2 separate regions of the Homo sapiens genome follow, and region 1 is linked to region 2. Evidence: promoter capture Hi-C in 16 types of primary human blood cells and fetal thymus (Javierre and others, 2016). All regions are on one chromosome and are shown on one strand. Each heading gives the region's core, a stretch centred on a gene start or on the middle of the fragment in contact. The rest is flanking DNA. Distances are from core to core; before and after follow the strand shown.

The links. The method cuts DNA at HindIII sites, captures the fragments that hold promoters and counts their contacts. A CHiCAGO score of 5 or more calls a contact.
Region 1: a fragment that was not itself captured here is called in contact with the fragment with the promoter of SMU1 in region 2 in 5 of 17 cell types (total B cells, naive B cells, monocytes and 2 more); the score reaches 10.8 in total B cells.

The regions. Positions count from the first base shown.
Region 1 is chr9:33,126,642-33,134,022 of GRCh38, reverse strand. The region is part of intron 2 of B4GALT1 (beta-1,4-galactosyltransferase 1); the gene reads left to right. It overlaps LOC124902141 (a long non-coding RNA gene), which reads left to right and starts at 1,774. Exons shown (of 2, transcript XR_007061455.1): 1 at 1,774-3,747; 2 at 5,034-6,212. The HindIII fragment of the contact is 1,945 bases long and covers 4,644-6,588 here.
Region 2 is chr9:33,072,841-33,079,553 of GRCh38, reverse strand. SMU1 (SMU1 DNA replication regulator and spliceosomal factor) reads left to right here and starts at 2,880. Exons shown (of 12, transcript NM_018225.3): 1 at 2,880-2,971; 2 at 5,748-5,958. The coding sequence starts at 2,946. RefSeq lists enhancers at 2,499-2,698, 2,869-3,018. The HindIII fragment of the contact is 3,581 bases long and covers 343-3,923 here.

The DNA of each region.
Region 1 (7,381 bases), core at 4,367-6,866, 52 kb before region 2:
GGTGGCTGCCAAATGCTTTGGAAGCTCAGAGGAAGGAGAGAGAGCAATGGCTTGGAAGAACCAGGATATAAACTAGGTTCTAAAGTCTGCAGGGAGATGGGCTTCTCAGCTGGGGCCAGTGAGCAGGGACCTTAAGGCAGAAAGGAGCCTTGCATGTTCCTGGAAATTGAGATGCCCACTGGGGTAGGAAAGCACCAGAAGCTCTGGGACCAGGTGTCAGAGTTAAGCCTGTGAGGCAGGAGAGAGCAGAACAAGCCCTGTTACAAGGAAACTGAAGCAGGAGAGCAGGTGGTGGGCAAACCCCTTGAGGCTGTTTGAATTCTTCGGCCAAGTGAGGTACAGACCAGGGCCCTATGAACACCTGCAAGCAAGACAGCCACGCAGTTGTGGGTCACCTTGGAAGAATATTGGAGAATGCAAGAGAGAACAGGTAAATGTCCTGCAAAATGCGGGTCACTTTAACCCAACACATATTCATTTAAGAAAAGCTCTGTGATTGAGAAACATTTGTCTGATGCCAGTTAGCACATACCAATGACGGCAAGATTCAGGAGCCTGTTATTAAAGCAGTGGCAGCGAGCACCTGGAAGAGGCGGCCACCATCACCAGGAGCCAGCAGGGATGACTAATAAGCCGTGCCAGCTGCATCTCGTTTCTCTCTTGACAGTTGCTATGCCAGTAGATGAGGGATGTACTGTGGATACAATGCTGTCATATCTTATTCAGCAGGGCATCTGATAGCATCCCACAAATCTGCCTGAGTAGAAGACAGACAGCTGTGGTCTGGGTGCCATATAGGTAGGTTAAAATATATATTTGGGCCTAGGCGCAGTGGCTCATGCCTGTAATCCCAGCACTTTGGGAGGCCAAGGCAGGCGGATCACTTGAAGTCAGGAGTTCAAGACCAGCCTGGCCAACATGGCGAAACCCCGTCTCTACTAAAAATACAAAAATTAGCTGGACATAGTGGTGGGCGGCTGTAATCCCAGCTACTCGGGAGGCTGAGGCAGGAGAATCTCTTGAACCCAGGAGGCAGAGGTTGCAGTGAGCCGAGATCATGCCACTGCACTCCAGCCTGGGCAACAGAGTGAGACTCTGTCTCAAAAAAATAAAATAAATAAATAAATAAATAAAATATATACTTGGGTAAAGAGGATAAAAGAGTTAGCGATGATGCTGAATTTTTGAACTGAGGTGGCTGTTTTCAAGGAAGACTGGAGGGTGGGATGCTACGTCTAGATATGTTGCAGTTTAGGTGAATGTGAGACTTCCCTGTTTTGAAGTCAAATATTGGACCAGTAAAATCTAGCCATCAGCTTAAATTCCTATGATACAATTTACATACTCCCCAGGCTCAACACAGTAGATTTCTGAATGTCCTCTGCCAGCTACATGCTCCTGCCCACCTCAATCCGAGTAGATGGAACAACTAACCAAGCCAGCTCAGACCGGTGGCACAGCTGTGCTGGCTAACACTGGGCACCACCTAAGAGAGTGCTTCTCCAAAAGTGTGCTTCCCCAAATGGAGCGAAATACGCTTGAGGAATGTTGGGTTGAACCATGTAAAGCAGGTCTCATTCCCGCAGAGCCTTTGGTACCCCGGTGTACACTGTAACCCCAGAAGTGTTTCCTGAGCTTGCCTGACGAGACAACTTTTCCAAGAACCGTCTCAAGTGATGAGTGTTTTGTGAGTCACACTTTGGGGAAAGCGGGCCTAAGTTAGCATCTCCTCCCAGCTGCCTCCCTGCTTTCCCTGGAACACTAGGAACTGCCCGTCCTCCCTCCCTCCCTCCTCTTCCCACTTCACAACTTAGCATCAGGAATATTTTAGTTTTGGTTTTTCAAACATATATACCTCCTTTTTTCTTATCTTGTCAATATCATCTTTTTTTTTTCTTTGCTTTTCCTCATACTTTTTTTTCTCTTCATCCTTTCCTTCTCCAAGGGTTAACTTTCCACCTTAGGAGAATCTTTTCTGCTTTTTCTCCCACTTCCCCAGCTACTCTCTTATCATCTGCTCCAATCTCACCCTAATTGATCATTTTGGGAAAATATGGTCAGAGTCCAGATAACTAAGTTGAGAAATGCTTAAACTCTGCCATACCTTTCCAGTAAAGAATATTACCTAATAAATAATAAAATGGTAATGGGAAACCTGAACCCTGAAAAAAAAGAGGTGGAAGGAGAAACATTTGGAGCACATCCTGTCTACAAATTAGGAACTGCCTGTGTTATCTGTTTTATGGTTATATTCTAGAAGAAGAAAGGGATTTTGTAGCACCTGGTTTTGACCTTTCTGCACTGTTTGTTGAGCAAATAAACCTTATGGGCTGTTAGCCCTCTTTATAGCCTCTCAGCTTATCCCTGGCCCAGACACCCTGCTGTCATTTTGACTTTTCATTCCCACACACACATACACATGCACACACATGTACACACACACACATACCATTTAAGATTAGACAGAAGTAATGCTCAAAATGGAGTGGCTTCTGAGACATTTAGTCCAAGGGTTCCCAAACAGGCTTTTCAGTATCAGATTTCTTTCTGCCCCATTGAAATGCTACACAACCTTCCGCTTACAGCAGGTCACAAGGGTTTCATTCTACTTGAAGTAGGGGCCATGTCCCATTTCCACTTCCTTGGCTTCCCATTCAGTCACTGCTAGGATTTGCCTAGACCCCTGAGGCCAGACAATGTAGAAACTTCTGCTCCATGTCACAGGTGAGGAAACAGGCTCAGAGAGGGACAGGCTCCGAAAGTCACATAGACAACAGTAGGGCTGCGGCTCAAACCCCAGCGTCTGACTCCAGGTTTAGTGCCTTCTCAGGGCATCAGTGACACTCCTCATGGCCAGGGTGCCCCCAGTGTTGCTCACAGTCTGGTATCCAGGGCTGAGAGTGTGCTGTGTGCTCAGACTGCCTGGGTTCAGTCCTGGCACTGCCACTTTACAGTCAGTGACCTCAGGCAGGTTACTTAAGCTCTGCAGGCCTCAGTTTCCTCCTTGGTGGGGAGGGTTATGAGGCATCCTTCTCATGGTAAACCTTCAGTAAATACCAGCCGTTACTAGGAGGGTCCACTCCTGCCTCTCCACTCTCCATTCATCCTGCCTGTTTCCTCTGCCTGCTTCCTCTGCCTGCTTCTGTGGTGGTGAATTCTTCATGGCTCCCACCGCCTCCTGCTGCACCCCCACTCAGGGCCCGCATCAGGACCCTTCCTCCTATTGGTTTGAACTCCTTGGAGTCAGAGGGTAATGGATAGTGGAGTGAGCCAGGTGGCAGAATCTCAGAGGCCATCCCGGGCCTATAAGCCTCTTCAAAATAGGGCCACGTATCAAGCTTTACACACAGGAGTGAACTTTCACAAGTTGTTATGACTCATACTCTGTCTATAGTAAGCTGTTAACCACTCCCATTTGGCTTATGCCTCTGTAATTATTGTACTAACTTATATCTTAAAATAAGGATATTGAAGGAATGAGCCGGGAGAGGCTTTCCTGGTTGAGATATAGAAGAACAAGAGTTGCTCTTTTTCCTTAAGGTCTCTCCTCCCACCCCTGACCTTAGCTCACCAGCATGGGAGAATACTATTTGACTCCTTGTACTCTGAGACGTGGATTTCAAGATATAGCATTCCAACTTCAACGGCAGCAAGAAAAGAAGCAACAGAAGGAGAAGACATCATAGCAAACAGGGATGCATGCTGCATTTCCTAATACTCAAACCCGGAAACGAGACTTCACTCAAGGTGAAGGGAGGGCAGGTCACCACCTGGTAGCACTAGCCCTAAATTAAGGAATGCAGAATGTTTGTGGGATTGCCCATCATAAAAATTACAAAATGAGTAAGGAATGCAGGCACAGCTGGCCAGGTGGGTTTGTCACAACCATGGCAGCCCTTTGCCCCACAGCCAGTACACAGAACTGGTCTCTCCAATTCCGATTGCATATCTTCTGGCACCTCTGTTCCTCTCCCTCAGCTGCCCAGGATTTTTCTGGTTCTGACCATGTTACTTCCTCTTTTAAACCTGTTAGCATTTCACGACTGCCTACAGGCAACGGTCTAAATGGTCGGAAGGCCCAAGCTTAGCATCCGAGACCCTGACCTACCTCCAGCCACTTCCTCCTCCTCTCCACTTCACTGGACTCCCCATCTCCACCCAGACACCTCTGTTCTCCCCTCTGTGTGCCTTTGCTTATGCTGTCCCCTGTGTTCCTAGTGTGTCTCTGGCTATCTTTTAAGCTTCCCTCCCCAACCTCATTAGTTCTGTGGAGCCCCTGGAATAGAGCTGACTTCTCCTTCCCTGCTGCTCCCAGGCTGCTCAGAACTTTCTGGAAAGGGATGATTATCTGAGTTCCAGCCTCACCCCAGCCCCCGGACTCTGAGTCCCTCATGTCTGCCTCCCTTCTTTCTCTCTGACCACACAGCTGGTACATAGTCAGTACAGACGCAGTCAGTGAGTGGAGCACGGGGCTTCTCTCCAGGATTCCTGCCCCTTTGTTTATCCCTAGTCTCAGGACTCCCTACTCCTGGTCTTCTGCCTAAATCTGTGCCTCTTGGAAGTGAAGCCTCCGTTCCCAGTGGGGCCAGGTCCTGACCCTTGGGAACTTGCAGGATCCCTCCCTTGGGCCTCTCCCCGAAGCTTCCAGCTCAATGCTGACCAGAGCACAGGCTGCCTGTGACAGTCCTTGGGGTGACCTCCCTTATCAGGAAAAATGCAGAAAACCTATTAATACCTTAGCCTTGTGATTGTTAATGGTCACAAAACTCCTTTAGGGTCCTTTGGACTCAGCACCTTTATGGTCTCACTTTGAATTTTGAACCTCCCACCTCCCCCCATCCCCCAGAGTAAGGCAAATGGTCTTCTGATTGTTCCTGCAGAGGGAAGGCTCCACAGGTAAGCACACGATGGCCAGGAAGCAGAGCTGGAGCCTGCCTGAAAGGCTGTGGAGAAATGGAGGGAGGGCTGCCCTGAGGACTCTGTCTGGCTTTGAAGTTTTCTACTGTTTCCTTTTCTTCTGTGCACTGTTTTAGGATGATGGGGTGATAGTTCCAGGCTGGTTGAGGATGGATTTGGAGACAGTCCTTTGTACCCTCAGTGAGCAAGAGTATCTGTCACCCTACCTCAGCAGTTGTCTCTGTCACTGGTCCAAGCAGCTGGTTCCTACACAAGGTCAAGATCAACTGGGGAGAAGCAGACTCCTGGGTCTATCCCATTAGTGAGGACAGCTGCCTGGGCTTATGGCCTCATTGGTTTGGTTTCTATCTTGATCATCTCTACCATCCCCCCATCCCGGCCTTCCATTTTCTACCTCAGCTGTCAGTGCACAGATTGATGTGTGTGGGAACGGAGCTTGGGAGGAGTGGGGTAGGGCTGGTCCTGTCCTGTAGCCTCCCCTTCCTTCGGGCACTTGGACCCTTTGGAGCTTGCCGGGGTGGGGAATGGGAGTGGGAAGGCCAGGGAGTGTCTCTGCACCATCACTGTTTGAGTGTTGCCCCTTTGCTGTGTGCCCCACCTAGTCTATGTGTGTCTCTGTTCTCTGGGGACTCAATTTGCTGGTGAATTGCTTCCATGGACATTGTTCTGGGAAATGCCATTTTTTCTGCTCACCCATGACTCTGTGACAAGGAATGACAGCTTATTAGGAATTTGTTTTTGCATTGGAACAGTGGTCATCAGAATGGGCCCCTTTTCCCTTGCAGCTTTGACATTTGCCTCTCTTTTCCTCACCTCTCTCCCTTGCATCCACCCTTTTCTCTTTTTCTTCTTTTTTGTTTTCCTTCTAGCAGGGGCCTTTTACCTTTACTTGTTAATCCTGTTTGTAGCAAAGCAAGTGGAAGGAGGAGTTCCTCTCTGATCTGCTTCTTATTCTCCACCTACCTTCTCTTCTGTACTTTCCGCCTCCTAGAGAGAGAGAGAGAGAGAGGAATGCCGACCTAACTACCGCTGCCACTGCTGCTGCCACCACCGCTGCCACCACCACCCTGGTAATGTTCACATGTCCTCAAATCAACCCAGAGCCAGGGCCCTGCTGGTCAGGGGGAGGCTATGTAAATAATCCCATGAGTGTGCCATCCTCAGGCCCTGGGGTCTCCTAGGCAAGACCAGGGCCTCTGTGGGCTCTCTCGGAAATGCTGAGGTTGCTGGAAGCCAGCCCGTCATACAGGGTCTGAGAGTTTAACTTCTTTTAAATTAAACCACAGTTGAGCTCATGCTGTGTGTGTATAAACTTTTGTATCCTGCTTTTTCCTTAAATTCTTTATCATCAGCATCTTCCCATGTTATTTCATAGTCTTCATCATCATCACTTTCCATACCTTCATAGTAGTTGATCGTAGAATTCCATCATAATTAACTTGTCTTTTCTCTCTTAGAAGTCCCTTAGGTAATGTCCAATTTTCCGTGAGTGTAAGTAATACCATAATGAACATCTTGGAGTCTGAAGTTTATTCTGTGTTGGTTTGTTCCACATTTAGGATCATTTTCCCAGGCTAGATTTTCAGATGTGGGATTATGGGTTCAGATATGGTTTACACATTTTTATAGTTCTTAATACAGATGGCCAAATTGCTTTCTGAAAGAGAAGCTTTTCTTAAGTATTTTTCTCCAACTTGTATCTTAAACATCCTGAACATGCTTAGCACCACTGTCTTGATATATCTGCGGAAAGCCACGTCTCCACTTTTCAGTGTGTCGGGCCCTGGGAGAGGCAGGCATCCTGCGCTGGCTCCTTGGAGCTGGGTTTAAAATTGTCTCCTCTGGCTGGGCGTGGTGGCTCACACCTGTAATCCCAGTACTTTGGGAGGCCGAGGTGGGCGGATCACTAGGTCAGGAGATCGAGACCATCCTGGCTAACATGGTGAAACCCCGTCTCTACTAAAAATACAAAAAATTAGCCGGGCGTGGTGGCGGGCACTTGAAAAGTCCCAGCTACTCGGGAGGCTGAGGCAGGAGAATGATATGAACCCGGGAGGCGGAGCTTGCAGTGAGCCGAGATCGCGCCACTGCACTCCAGCCTGGGCGACAGAGTGAGACTCCATTTTAAAAAAACAAACAAACAAAACAAAAAAACAAACAAACAAAAACTGTCTCTTCTGTGCTCACTTCACCCAGAATCCCTGTTGGGCTCTTCAAGGAGCTCAGTTCTCTCTGAAAGCAACTTTATAGCCTCAGTCCAGTCTGTGTTCCTGTGTGGCAGGGGTCAAGGGTATGCTCACTCTTGAGAGTGGTGTCTTTGGTTGACCAAGAACCACTCCCATAGCCTGGTCCCTAACCCTTGAAGGCCCATCTCTCTCACTCACTGGGGTGAAGAGTTTAAATCTCAGATCCAAGTTTTGTTGAGAGCTCTGAGCTACCATATTGCTATGGTTAACAATAGTTA
Region 2 (6,713 bases), core at 1,631-4,130:
TTGCTGGGCATGGTGGTGCGTGCCTGTAATCACAGCTACTTGGGAAGCTGAGGCAGAAGAATCACTGGAACCCAGGAGGCAGAGGTTGCAGTGAGCTGAGATGGTGCCACTGCACTCCAGCCTAGGCAACAGAGTGAGACTCTGTCTTAAAAAAGAAAGAAAAATCTACTTACGCAGATAATGAAAAAATCAATATAATGCTAAATATATAGGAAAAATAAAAATAAATTAATTTGTTATAAAATAGAGTAATATGTAGTTCAATATCAAAATCCTAGGGTGTTACTACAAAAGACATAATGAAGCAATAAGATGCTCACATCTATAAATAATGAACAAGCTTGGATGTAATAGGAGTCATAAGAAGAGAAGCCATTCCATTCAAAATGAAAGCAGAGGTGTGGTGGATATTAGAATAAAACCTGGTGTTAAGTAATCATAGAGAAGATTTATTTGTATAAACAAAATAGAGAAGTAACCTGAATTTAAGAGTAACATGACAAGTACTAGGTAGAGAAAATGAGGACATATGCTATTGTTGCGATGAGCTGGGTCTTCTTTTCAAGGAAGAAGTTATAATAATTTTGTGCTGTTATGGGATAGAATAGTGAAGGAGTATCTCATAAACCATATAACCCATGTTGATATCTCACTACATGTCAAGGCAAGCATGGAGACTCTAAAACATTTGAAACCTTGGAGACCATGTCCTTCAAGAATTGATAGGAAATAGAGGATGATTTGACAAAAGAAGCAGTATTTAAGAGGTTATGGACAAGTTGTATGGCAGACCTTTAGGCACAGAATCAGATAAGACTGAAAGCCATCAGGAAATCTACAAATACATCATTTCAATATGTAATTTCGGAACACAGATTTATTTTATTTATTTATTTATTTATTATTTTTTGGTCACTCGGTCACCCAGGGTGGAGTGCAGTGGTTCGATCTCTCCTCACTGCAACCTCTGCCTCCCGGGTTCAAGGGATTCTCCTGCCTCAGTCTCCCGAGTAGCTGGGATTACAGATGCACACCTATCTGCCTGGCAAATTTTCTTATTTTTAGTAGAGACGGGGTTTCACCATGTTGGCCAGGCTGGTCTCCAACTCCTGAACTCAGGTGATCCACCCGCCTCAGCCTCCCAAAGTGCTGAGATTACAGGCGTGAGCCACCACGCCTGGCCAGATTTATTATTACTGTGCTGCAAATAATTTTTACAATTTATATACAACAGCAATAAAATATTTAAAAATAGGTTTTATGTATGAAGTTCACTGATATCTCTACATTTCATTTGTCACTACAAATGTAATAATGTGTTTGACCTAAAGTCCCGTGACAGGGCGTGGTGGCTCATGCCAGTAATCCCAGCACTTTGGGTGGCTGAGGTGGGAGGATTGCTTGAGCTGGAGGGGTCGAGGCTGCAGTGTGCCACGATCGAGACACTGCACTCCAGCATGGGCAACAAAGCGAGTCCTTGATTCAAAAAAACGCAAAACCAACCAACCAACCAAAATCCTCAATTAACTCTTCCTATAAATTTTGGCTAGTGTTATGTTGGTTTTGAATGTATTAATATCCCATCAGGTATTGCATATTCAGCCTCATCTTAAATCTAATCAACTAATTACATCAAACGAAAGCAACATTGGCTGGGCGCAGTGACTCACGCCTGTAATCCCAGCACTTTGGGAGACCGAGGCGGGCGGATCACGAGGTCAGGAGTTCGAGAACAGCCTGACCAACATAGTGAAATCCCATCTCTACTAAAAATACAAAAAATTAGCCTGGCGTGATGGCAAGAAACCTGTAATCCCAGCTACTCCGGAGGCTGAGGCAAGAGAATCTCCTGAACCCGGGAGGCAGAGTTTGCAGTGAGCCGAGATCGCGCCATTGTGCTCTTCAGCCCGGGCGACAGTGCGAGATTCCGTCTCAAAAAAAAAGCAATCTTTCCAAACCAGTGCTCTTTCTTTTCTTTCTTTTCTTTTCTTTCTTTTCTTCTTTCTTTTCTTTGCTTTTCTTACTACAATCTTATCACCACTACTTTTCTTTTCTTCTTTTGAGACGGAATTTTGCTCTCCTTGCCCAGGCTGGAGTGCAATGGTGTGATCTCGGCTCACCGCATCCACCTCCAGAGGTGAAACGATTCTCCTGCCACAGACTCCCGAGTAGCTGAGATTACAGGCGCCCCCGCCACCACGCCCGGCTAATTTTTTGTATTTTTAGTAGAGACGGGGCTTCACCATGTTGCCCAGGCTGGTCTCGAACTCGCGCGCTGGGAGTACAGGCGCGAGCCACCGCGCTCCGCCCCAGCGCTTTTCTTTTTCAGTACATTTGTGAGCTGTATGGCGCCCGGTGCTTTTTTTCTTTTTCTTTTCTATCTTTCTTTTTTTTTTTTTTTTTTTTTTGAGACGGAGTTGCGCTCTTGTTTTCCATGCTGGGGTGCAATGGCGCGATCTCGGCTCACCGCAACCTCCGCCTCCTGGGTTCAAGCGATTCTCCTGCCTCAGGCTCCCGAGTAGGGATTACAGGCATGCGCCACTACGCCCGGCTAATTTTGTATTTTTAGTAGAGACGGGGGTTTCTCCATGTTGGTCAGGCTGGTCTCGAACTCACGACCTCAGGTGATCGCCCGCCTCGGCCTTCCAAAGTGTTGGGATTACAAGCGTGAGCCACCGCACCCGGCTCCGGCCTGCTTTTAAACAGTCTTCCTCCTGATGCGTATTTCTCTGGGGCAGGGGCATAAACTCCGCCCTCTGACAGCCCCTGAGGGCTCCGCCCCTACGCGAACCTCGCCCCTACTCTTCGTTCACTCTATCTCCAGAGCGGGAGCCAGACGCCGACCCAAGCGGAAGTGACGTTAGGTGTCCGCCGGAGGTGTCGTTGGTGTGTTGCGCGACTGGCCTTGAGGGAGAGCTGGGGCCTGCTCCCGGAGAGATACGGCTATGTCGATCGAAATCGAATCTTCGGAGTGAGTCCTGCGGTGGGGATGTTCGCGCCTTGCCGGGGGCCTGGAGGTTAAGGGTGTGGGGCGGAGGGTACTCGGGAGAAGGCATCCGAGAGGCCAGGGAGTGGAGGGCCATTTCCTTGCCCCCAAAGAAGCATCTTGGATCTCGCTACCTCGGAGGTGGGCCCACAGGAAAGTAGCAGCTCTCAGACGTGAAGCCCAAAACCTCGAGGGAGGTGGCACGGGTGGGGAAAACACACCTTGCAGACCTAAGTTCTGTCCTTGGCCGACTGCTGGCGCGCTGTGATTGACCAAATTAAGGATCCACTCTGGACTCCAGTCTAATTATCTGCGCAAGGGGATAGGTCTCTTTAAGCCTTGCTTCTCTCCCTGTCCAGCTTATGCAATGTGATTCGTTGTCTCTGCTTATACGGCCCCTTTGCTTTTCTCTGCCTAGCGTTTATCACTCAGTATTGTCACTGTTTGATAACCTCACCCCAAACTAGCCTTTGTCGGTGCCTAGGAGCTCCTTTTCCTTGTGGTCTCAGTGTCTAGCATACCTTAGAGGAAGAGTTAATTGCTTTTGGAATGAATGAACAACTAGCTTTTGGAATGAATGAACAACTATCAGGCCCGATCTGGCACGGAATTTTGGGTTGTCTGGGGAGAGACAGACTGGAGACTGGGCTAGAAAGAAAAATTTTCAAGGAATAGGGGATGAGAATTAGTGACTAAAGAAGACCTTAGTGTGCTTTTCCAGAACTCCATCCTCCACCTGTCCTTGCCAACACTTAATAATAATTAAATTAACAGACATAAAAATTGTGTCTGAGTGTAAGGGAGGGAGAGGACCTTTTTTGGAGACTTTTCATAGGAGGAAGGGAGGTTTATGCATTCAGCAAATACTGAAATGATGTTAACCTACTTGTCCAAGGTCACATAACTTTGATTCAAATCCCAGACTATCTTCAAAGCTTCTAGCTCTTTATGTATTCATTTCTGTTTGAAGGTAGGGAATTTGATTTTGGCTATGTCAAATGTGAGCTGTTTGAGGAGAGAGATGACTTATTTTGGGAGTGTAAAATGGAAGTCAACGGACATGTGCTAAGGAAGATAGTATCATAGCAGAATAACAGGGGTCTAAGTCTGGATACCTGCATACCTCATAAAGGGGCCATGAGAGAAAAAGACTACTGCAGGTAGCAGCAATCAGTTCCCTTTTTTTTTTTTGAGACGGAGTCTCACTCTGTCACCCAGGCTGGAATGCAGTGGCGCGATCTCCGCTCACTGCAAGCACCGCCTCCCACGTTCACGCCATTCTCCTGCCTCAGCCTCCCGAGTAGCTGGGACTACAGGCGCCCACCACCATGCCCGGCTAATTTTTTTGTATTTTTAGTAGAGACGGGGTTTCACCGTGTTAGCCAGGATGGTCTCGATCTCCTGACCTTGTGATCTGCCCGCCTCGGCCTTCCAAAGTGGTGAGATTACAGGCGTGAGCCACCGCGGCCGGCCTATAGTTGTTTTTAAGAAGAGGGGCCAGGTGCGGTGGCTCACACCTGTCATCTCAACACTTTGGGAAGCTGAGGTGGATGGATCACTTGAGCCCAGAAGTTTGAGACCAGCATGGTCAACATGGCAAAACCACGTCTCTACAAAAAATACAACAATTAGCCAGTGTGGTGGTGCATGCCTGTGGTCTCAGCTACTCGGGAGGCTGAGGTGAGAGGATCACCTGATCCCAGGAGGCCCAGGCTGCAGTCAGCCACAATCACGCCACTATTCTGTCCAGCCTGAGCGATGCAAGTGACCATTTCTCAAAAAAAAAAAAAAAAAAGAGGATGTTTGCTTTCTCCTCAGGAATACATGCTCTAGAGCCACACTGCCAGTTTGAGTCCTGATTTTTCCACTTATTATCTCTATTATCTGATCAAATCCTCATCTGTAAATTGGGGATAAAAGTAAACTTACCTCATAGGTTTTATTTTATTTATTTTTTTGAGACAAGGTCTTGCTCTCTTTCCCAGGCTAGAGTGCAGTGGCATGATCACGGCTCACTGCAGCCTCAACCTTATGGATACAAGCAATCCTCCCACCCCAGCTTCCCAGGTAGCTGGGACCACAAGCACACACTATCATGCCTAGCTAATTTTTTTTTTTGTGTGTGTGTGTGTGTAGAGAAGGGGTCTTCTTATGTTGCCCATGCTGGTCTTGAACTCATGGGCTCAAGGGATCCTCCCACATCAACATCCCAAGTAGCTGGGACTACAGGCACATGCCACCATGTTTGGCTAATTTAAAAAAAAATTTGTAGAGATGGGGTCTCACAGCTGCCTGATCTGGTCTCAAACCTCCTGGTTTCCAGCCAATCCTCCTGCCTCAGCCTCCCAAATTACTGAGATTACAGTCATGAGCCAGCATGCCCAACCTCATTTAGATTATTTTGTATAAATAACTAGTCTAGTCATTTAAAGTATTTCAGTGAAGTGTGCTACAATATAATTACAAGAATGAATAGGAAACTAGGCTCTGGATTAGGAAATAAGATAGTCACCTTGACACCAACTCCCTTTCTAGCTGACTGAGACATTAGGCAAATGATTTCCTTTCCTTGAACCCCAGTTCTGTCTCTATGGTTAGGGGGGGTCCCCTTATAATTTAGATTCTGTGATTTTGGAAAATTTTACTCACATGATAAAGAAATAGTAGTGAAAGGAAGATGATTGAGTAGGAGCTTGATAGGCTTTATTTTTGACCTCTGGTGAGTGAGAATCCCTGAGCTGAACGATTTGTTTTCTTTCAGTGTGATCCGCCTTATTATGCAGTACTTGAAGGAGAACAGTTTACATCGGGCGTTAGCCACCTTGCAGGAGGAGACTACTGTGTCTCTGAATACTGTGGACAGCATTGAGAGTTTTGTGGCTGACATTAACAGTGGCCATTGGGATACTGTGTTGCAGGCTATACAGTCTCTGAAATTGCCAGACAAAACCCTCATTGACCTCTATGAACAGGTAAGAGTGGTGGTGATGCTGATCCCCATGGGTTGGTTCGTTGTGGGCCAGCTCCCCAACTAAAAAGCGTCAGTGAGCATTCCTTCAAGCACGGTAGGGCTGCATCAGCCCATACAACAATGGCAAGGCTTGACATTGTATTTTTTCTCCCTTCTTGGAAAATCCAGGATTTCCCAAATTAAAATTCTTTCCTTTTTTTGAGACTGGATCTTGTTCTGTTACCCACTCTGGAGTGCAGTGGCAAGATCACAGCTTGCTGCATCCTCCATTTCCAGGATCAATCCTTCCTCCTGCCTCAGCCTCCTGAGTAGCTAGGAACACAGGCACGCACCACCACGCCTGCCTAATTTTTGCATTTTTCTGTAGAGACAGGATCTCACCATAATACCCAGGGTGGTCTCAAACTCCTGGGCTCAAGCAGTTCGCCAGCCTTGACTTTCCAAAGGGCTGGGATTACAGGCACGAGAGAGCCTCAACTTTCTAATCACATAGTTAGTCTTTCTGATAACTAGCTCCTACCTATCCTGAGCCATTTCCTTTGCACAAACCCAGGTGTGATTCAAGGGGCCCAGGAGTAACAAAGATACCCCTATCACTGGTCAAATTCCAAGAAGCTCCAAGCCAAGAACCTAGGACAAAGATCAGACAAATTTGTGATTATAAAACAGCAGAGTAGACTTTCTGGAAATAAGATTGTAATTTGAAGTAAAAGTAGTGAAATTGGTTTTTGGTTTTTGTTTACGGGTTTTTTTTTT